2 separate regions of the Homo sapiens genome follow, and region 1 is linked to region 2. The links are contacts of gene promoters, found by promoter capture Hi-C in blood cells and fetal thymus (Javierre and others, 2016). All regions are on one chromosome and are shown on one strand. Each heading gives the region's core, a stretch centred on a gene start or on the middle of the fragment in contact. The rest is flanking DNA. Distances are from core to core; before and after follow the strand shown.

What was found. Contacts are between HindIII fragments. The CHiCAGO score rates a contact against its expected background, and 5 or more counts as called.
Region 1: a contact is called between a fragment that was not itself captured here and the fragment with the promoter of ELMOD2 in region 2, in 1 of 17 cell types (total CD4 T cells). The highest score is 5.2, in total CD4 T cells.

The regions. Positions count from the first base shown.
Region 1 is chr4:143,506,816-143,510,537 of GRCh38, reverse strand. No RefSeq gene overlaps it. Among named protein-coding and RNA genes, the nearest start is that of SMARCA5, 5.0 kb to the left of the region's middle. The HindIII fragment of the contact is 846 bases long and covers 1,264-2,109 here.
Region 2 is chr4:140,522,353-140,525,652 of GRCh38, reverse strand. ELMOD2 (ELMO domain containing 2) reads right to left here and starts at 1,485. Exons shown (of 9, transcript NM_153702.4): 1 at 1,373-1,485; 2 at 83-233. The coding sequence starts at 224. RefSeq lists silencers at 1,124-1,243, 1,434-1,783. The HindIII fragment of the contact is 7,186 bases long and covers 263-3,300 here.

The DNA.
Region 1 (3,722 bases), core at 437-2,936, 3.0 Mb before region 2:
AAACAGCTACAGGGACATTAGCTGTGTTCCTCAGGCAGATAGCAATACTAATATGGTGGCCAAATCACAAAATCCTGCTAAAAGGCTAAAACTAGCAGCTAGTTGTTGAATTGATCACATAATACAGAATTCATGTGTTGGTAAAAGAGTGGGTTGGGGAGCAGGCAAGCCTAGATTCCAGTGCAGGCTCTGGAACTTAGTAGCTGTGTGAATGCAGACAAGTTATCTAACCTCTTTGAAATCAATTTTCTCATCTTTTTATTATTATATTTTCCTAGCTTTATTTTGAGATAATATTATGATGTCATAAAAATTAAATGAGACAGTATAAGGTACATGATACAGTGCCTGACATATAGTGAGTTCTGGGTTCAAGTGTTAGTCTTATCCTTGAGAATCATAAGCCTAAGGTTTAGAGTCTAGTTGAAAGAAGAGGAACCAAAGAAGGAGGAGGGTAAGGGGTTTGGTAGCAAGAAAACACCAGAAAGGATTAGAGCTTTAGTCGTATTCCCAGCAACAGAATGCTACAGTGTAAAATAATGTTAGTGTTCTATCTCCAATATGTATATACATAGTTTACACCTAAAATTTCCTCTGTTAGATTTAATGTGCTAGAACAGCAAGTACAGTACAGAAATACAATGGAACAAAGAGATGTTGCCAGAGGACAAAAATGTGCCGAAGAGCCAGGGCTCTCTCAGCATTGTGTCCTTGAATGGTAACAGAAAGGAGTTAAAGTTTTCTCAAGGACAAAGAAGAAATGCAACACCTCTCTTCATTGCAACTCATTTTGTCAAAGCTTAAGAAAATAAAGTCTGATTACTGCAAGACAATAAAACTGTATTGAGTTTGTATCTAAGAATGGGTATTTCCAACACCAGATACCAATGATTACATGTTGTATGTATCTTTTTTAGAGTTCTCCCACATAGGTCATTTGTCAATGTACAGAGATTTCAGTTAAAGAGAAACATTAACTGTACTGTTAATAAACAGGTAAGGATATATTCCCTTCATTCCCCTCATATTTAGTCACCAACTAAATAGTGGGAGACTTTGTGTCTGCTCGGTATATATGCATATGTTTATGTAGTCAAAGTTTTTCAGGTTTTCTCTGCATTTCTTCCTGCTCATGAAAAAATAATTTCTTTTTTGTTGGGCTGGTTCTAGGTAAAGTATTTCTAGGAACTCAAATATTATGATCCAAAGTTAAATTTTAACCACCATCTTTGAAACATTTTTGAAATAATAAACTACAAAGCTTCAATTAAGAAATTAGAGTTTTTTTATTTAGTTTTTATCTCATTTATTAAAAGGAACTTCAGACAAAGGAAATTAGGCAGTCTTTTGCTCAAAATATTGAAAGTAAAAAGATGGAAAATATATATCATTAAAACAATAGCAAAAAGAAAACAGGAGTGGCTATATCATTATCAGATAAAGTAGACTTCAGAGCAAAGAAAATTATGAGACAAAGAGGGACATTATATAATGATGAAAGTGTCAACCCAGAAGACATAGCAATTTTAAATGTATATGTACCAAACAACAGAGCTGCAAAATATGTGAAGCAAAAGGTGACAGAACTGAAATTAGAAATAACAAATCCACAATTATATGTGGAGACTACAGCATCTCTCAACAACTGATACTACAACTAGGCAGAAAACCAGCAAGGGTATAGAAGAACTTAACAACAGCCAATAGGATCTAATTGACATTTATACAACACTGCACATATTTTTTTCTTCTACAAAAGTAGGACTATACACATTCTTTTCAAGAACCCACAGAAAATATAGCAAGATAGACCATAAACCTTAACAAATTTAAAAGATGTGAAATCATACAGAGTATGTTTTTTAACCACAATGGAGTCAAACCAGAAATCAGTAACAAAATGTTACCAGGGATATATTCAAACTAAATGACGTGCTTCTAAATAATCCATGGGTCAAAGAGAGGTCTCAAGAGAAATCAAAAAGTACATTGAACAGAATAAAAATACAATATATTAAAATTTGTGGAACACAGCTAAAACAGTGCTTAGAGGGAAATTATACACTAAATGCTTACATTCAGAAAAGAGAATAGTCTCAAATGTAAGCTTTCACCTCAAAAAACTAAAAAAAGCAGAGCAAGGATAAATCCAAAGTAAACAAAAGGAAGGAAATAATAAAGGTAAGAGCAGGAGTCAATAAAATTAAATACGGAAAATAAAAAGCAAAAACTGGTTCTTTGAAAAGATACGTAAAATTGGCAAACCTCTAGGAAGTCTGACAAGAAAGGAAGAAAGGAAAAAAAGAGAGGGTAAGAAGGAAGGAAGAAACAAAGCTCAAATCACTAATATCAGGAATAAAACAGGACCTATCATTGTAGACCTTGAAAACATCAAAAGGGTAGTAAGGAGTACGACACACATAAATTTGACAACTTAAAACCACTTCCTTGAAAAATTCAAGCCACTTAAACAGTATAAAAAGATCATATGAATAGCACTGTAACTATTTAGGAAATTAAATTGATAAATTAAAAACTCCCAAAGAAGAAATCTTCAGGCACAGATGGTTTCAATGAAAAATTCTACCAAATATTTAAAGATGAATTAATACCAATTCCATACTATCTCCTGCAGATAATAGAAGAGGATGATACACTTTGTAATTCATTTTATGAAGGTGCTTTATCTCTAATACCAAATCAGACAGACACTACATAAGAAAGAAAATGACAGACCAGTATCACTGATGAATACAGACAAATCCTTAACAAAATATTATCAGATACAATTAAACAATGTGTAAAAAGAATTATGCACCCTGATCAAATGTGATTTATTCCAGATATTCAACACTGATTCAATATTTGAGTATTAGTCAATGTTGTCTGCCATATCAACAGGCTAGAGAAGAAAACTCACATGATTATATTGACTGATGAGGAAAAAGCATTTGACAAAATTCCAACACCCATTTAGAACAAAACTCTCAGAAAAAAAAAAAAAAAGAGAAAACAAATAGAGTGGAACTTCCTCCTCTTAATACAGAGCATCAGCAAAATACCTACAGCAAACATTATACTTAGTGAGATTGAATCCTCTCCCTCTAAGATCTGAAACAGGGAAGGTTTTCTGCTTATAACATTCATATTCAACACAGTGCTGAAAAGGAAAAATAGAGATCACTGAAATTCTCTTCAAACTGACATAAAACTTTTGTTGAAAATCAGAATAATGAACCAATTTGGCCAAATACAAATTTATATTTTTCATAATCTTTAACCATAAAGTGGAAGTAATGCTAGTTTATTTGATCAATAAATCAGTATAAATTTAGGAAAAACATTCCCAACTAAAATTATTATAGGATTTTATTATACTTAATATTGATAAATTAGATAAGACATAGATGATTTTATTAAAACAAAAATATTAAATTAGTCTTGTTTGCCAAAGATTCACCTACACTTTGTGAACATGGCTTCTCTACTTGTTAGTTTCAGTAAGAATACTTTTCTTTTAGATTTTAGCACGTTTAAATTATTAGAAGTTTATTATTTTCTGGGAATTTTTGGAATACTCAATCCATGTAAGTATCTTTATTAGTCAATCAGAACAGGCCCCTTTAAGAGTTTGTAATTGAACTTATTGATTACATCCTGAGATGGAAAACATTACGCACTCACAAAAGGAAAGTAAAATTTTTTCTGAATTATAGACACGT
Region 2 (3,300 bases), core at 236-2,735:
GAAATACATCTGTCACTGTGAGTCCTGAGAAAAACACTCCGTTAAACTTTTATTAGTACTTTTTCTTTTTGAATAACATTACCTATCCTGTGTGTCCTTTGTGCACCTACATAGGTATCAAATATTCGCTGCAATTCACACTTCCCAGTCATCTGTCGTAATAGCCATTTCATCCAAAATCGAAAAAAGTGCCCATAGAAGAACTCCCACAAAGAAATAAACATTTTTTTTTCCTGGAGGAGGGAAACATACAAGACAAGCTTAATGACCTTAAACTGAATTTTAAAATTTAAAAAGTTTATACAACTGATCAAATCTCAAATTATGTATCTATCATTTCATTGTGTCTGTTTTGACAGTTTAATTAGGCATTTAAAAACAATGGCAGGTGTAATATATACCGCTATTAATTGATGATCAAATGGCCAATTAATCACTTTTTCAAAACTAAAATTCAAACAATGTACTCAAACTATTCAATGGCTTGAAAGAGTAACAGAATGGTTTGCACTTTTTGCTAAATAATTGTATTTCATATCTTAGTTTCCTAACTTCCCATTCTTTGAGAACTGGGGCTCAACAGTTCAAGATCAAGAGGACTCCAACTAATCAACAATTAAAATATATACCAAAACATCAGAGTTGTTTTTATAGAATACACTCTTCTTATCCCATGTGGATAATTCGTTACAACTGTCCCAGTCAGGTGATGCCAGCAAATAAAAACACTACAAACTTAAGTATACAAGTTGAACACTGAGTATATAACACCTTAGCTCATTCTTGATTTTCCATTCAATAGGTCAAGGGCAGAAATACTAACAAGTTTTTGTTTTGCTAAGTACACACTCGATACAACTATATCTTATGCCATAAGAAAATTCTTCAGCTTCTAAATGAAAAAGTCAGGGAGATACTAGTGAGAGGGAGATACTTAAAAACAAAATTGCTCGTCTCCTTCCTGCCTTAAACATTCCCACAGACACGTCACCTCTGGACTAGGGCCTGAGGAGGGACTGTCGAAGTTCGAAGTACCCGCAGGTCAGTGCAGAAAGAGCGCATAGCACAGCTGGGTTGATCATTATCTTGAAAATCAAGCCATCTAGTCCGCGCTCATTAGGACAAAAGCGCAGAACTGCCGAGCAGAGGGGATGCACGCGTAGCGGCGCCTGAGCACCCCAGGGCTCTGGGCGTCTCTGCGCCGACCCCCCTCGCGCGCCGCCCGCGAATGGGAGGGCAGGGCTCGCACAAAGACCCGCCGGCCCAGGCGCCCCCGGGTTCCCGCAGAACCCCGCGGGGCTCGCGAGCCCGCGCGCTCTCAGTGCAGCCGCACCGAGGCATCCGGGGCAAGAGGAAAAGAAACAGCAGCCACCTCACAGGAGCGGAAGAACTAGGGGGAGCAGGAGCTGCCTCGGTTTCCCCACTGCAAACAGCCGGCAACGGAAACGACGGAACACTCCCTTCAAGCACCGCGACCCGGAAGTCAGGGAGCGAGGCCGCGGACCCGCCTTCCCAGGGCCACTGCCCGCCCCGCCCCTCCGGCCTCTTCCGATTGGCCCGCGCTCCACCTATTGCTAACGCTGGAGAGAGGTCGAGCTGAGTGGCCCAGGCGCGAGGGCTCAGATACTAGGGACGCCCAGACGGTTTCCCTGGCAACGGCGGCCAGGAGCCCCGCCCCGCGCCGGAGTAGCGCCTCCTAGCGCTGCGCTGGAGACTTTTCCCTCCTTGAACCTCAGGTCCTTAGCGCGGGTTGACACCTTGTACTATTCCTAGGCTCCAAGCGCGGAAGAAACCCTGTGCTTACGGTAACTTATAGTGCCTTAGTTACAAAAGCGCTTTCATCTGCATTGAATCTTAATTCTGTGAAGTAATTATGAATAACTCCACTTTATGCACGAGAAAAGGGAACCGGCTACTTGACTGTGGCCAATACGTGGCAGATGAGGAAAGTCCATGTGTTGAGAAACGAAGTTTGGACTTTATCCTATAATACTATAGGTCTAAAAGTTAATTTATCAAATGTTTATTCCCTAACTGGTTGTTTTTGTTGAAAAAGTAATTTCGTGATTACTTTTTAAAAACCTCAAGCAGTAAGTTTCTTAATTCAACAAGTATTTGTTGATTGTTAGCACAGGCAGTGTTCCAAAAGGCAGTCAAACACGAAACAAACAGCCAAATATTTAATATGTCAGATGCTACTAAATGTTAAGGGTATAGGGGTTGTTAGCTAAGGGGTAATGGGGAGTCTGTGGGGGAAGTCATTGCATACAGTGTGGTCAAGGAAGTCTCATTATTAACGTGGCATTTTGGCCTCATTGAACGAAGTAAGGGAGTTTACTGTGGGAGTATCTGGAGGGAGAGTGATCCAGGCACCAGAATGACAAGTGCAAAGACCTTGAATTGGGAGGGTTTTTGAAATGTTGGAGGAAGAGCAAGAAGGCCGGGGTGGCTGGAGGAGAAAGAGCAAGGGGGAGAGTAGAATATAAATACAAAGGACAACTGATACTGAAAACAAATTTCCCCATCCACCCAAAACTCCTGATACCTCCGTCACCTTGCTCAGAAGCAACCAGTATTACTTTCTTGTTTCTAATTCCAAAAATATTATATGCAAGTGTATATATGTATATTCCTTCCAACTCCTTGAATTGAAGCAAGTGATACATACTTTCCCACATCTCAACCAGCGTTTAAAAAATGGACTAATTGTAGAACACTAGCCATGTGCAGGGTGCATAAGCCGTCATCCCTGTCCCATACCAACAATGAACTTGGTAATGAAGTCTGGATAGACACTACAATAGTAAAATCACAGAATCTTAAATCTTAAAGAGAACTTATAACTATCATCTAATGTAATTTTTAAAATTATAGATTAAAAGATTTAGAAAGGCAAAGTGCACAGCCGATTTGGCAAATTGACCTGTAAACTAACTTCTATTTCAGGAGGATCTCCATTATTACACAAACTTTTACATAGTAGAAGGTGAGATAATTCTATATGTAATCCTTTTGCCTTTTCAAAGTGCTATACTAAGTGTAGGCAGTGCAGTAGAGGAACTCTCTCCTCCTTGTTTCCCTGCTGCCTGTTTGCCCACTTCCATTTATGTCTTTCCCCAAGAGAAGAGAATGCTGATATGTTTTGTCAGAACCAGAGAAATTGATTAAGCTGCATTTATTATAAGCAGGGTCACTGTACATTAAAACTTCTTATGCATACCTTTTGCCTCTTCCCTTTTCCACTAATTCACTTGCATGTAACTGGCAGATACATTAAACAAATCCTGTTTCTCAGGAAAG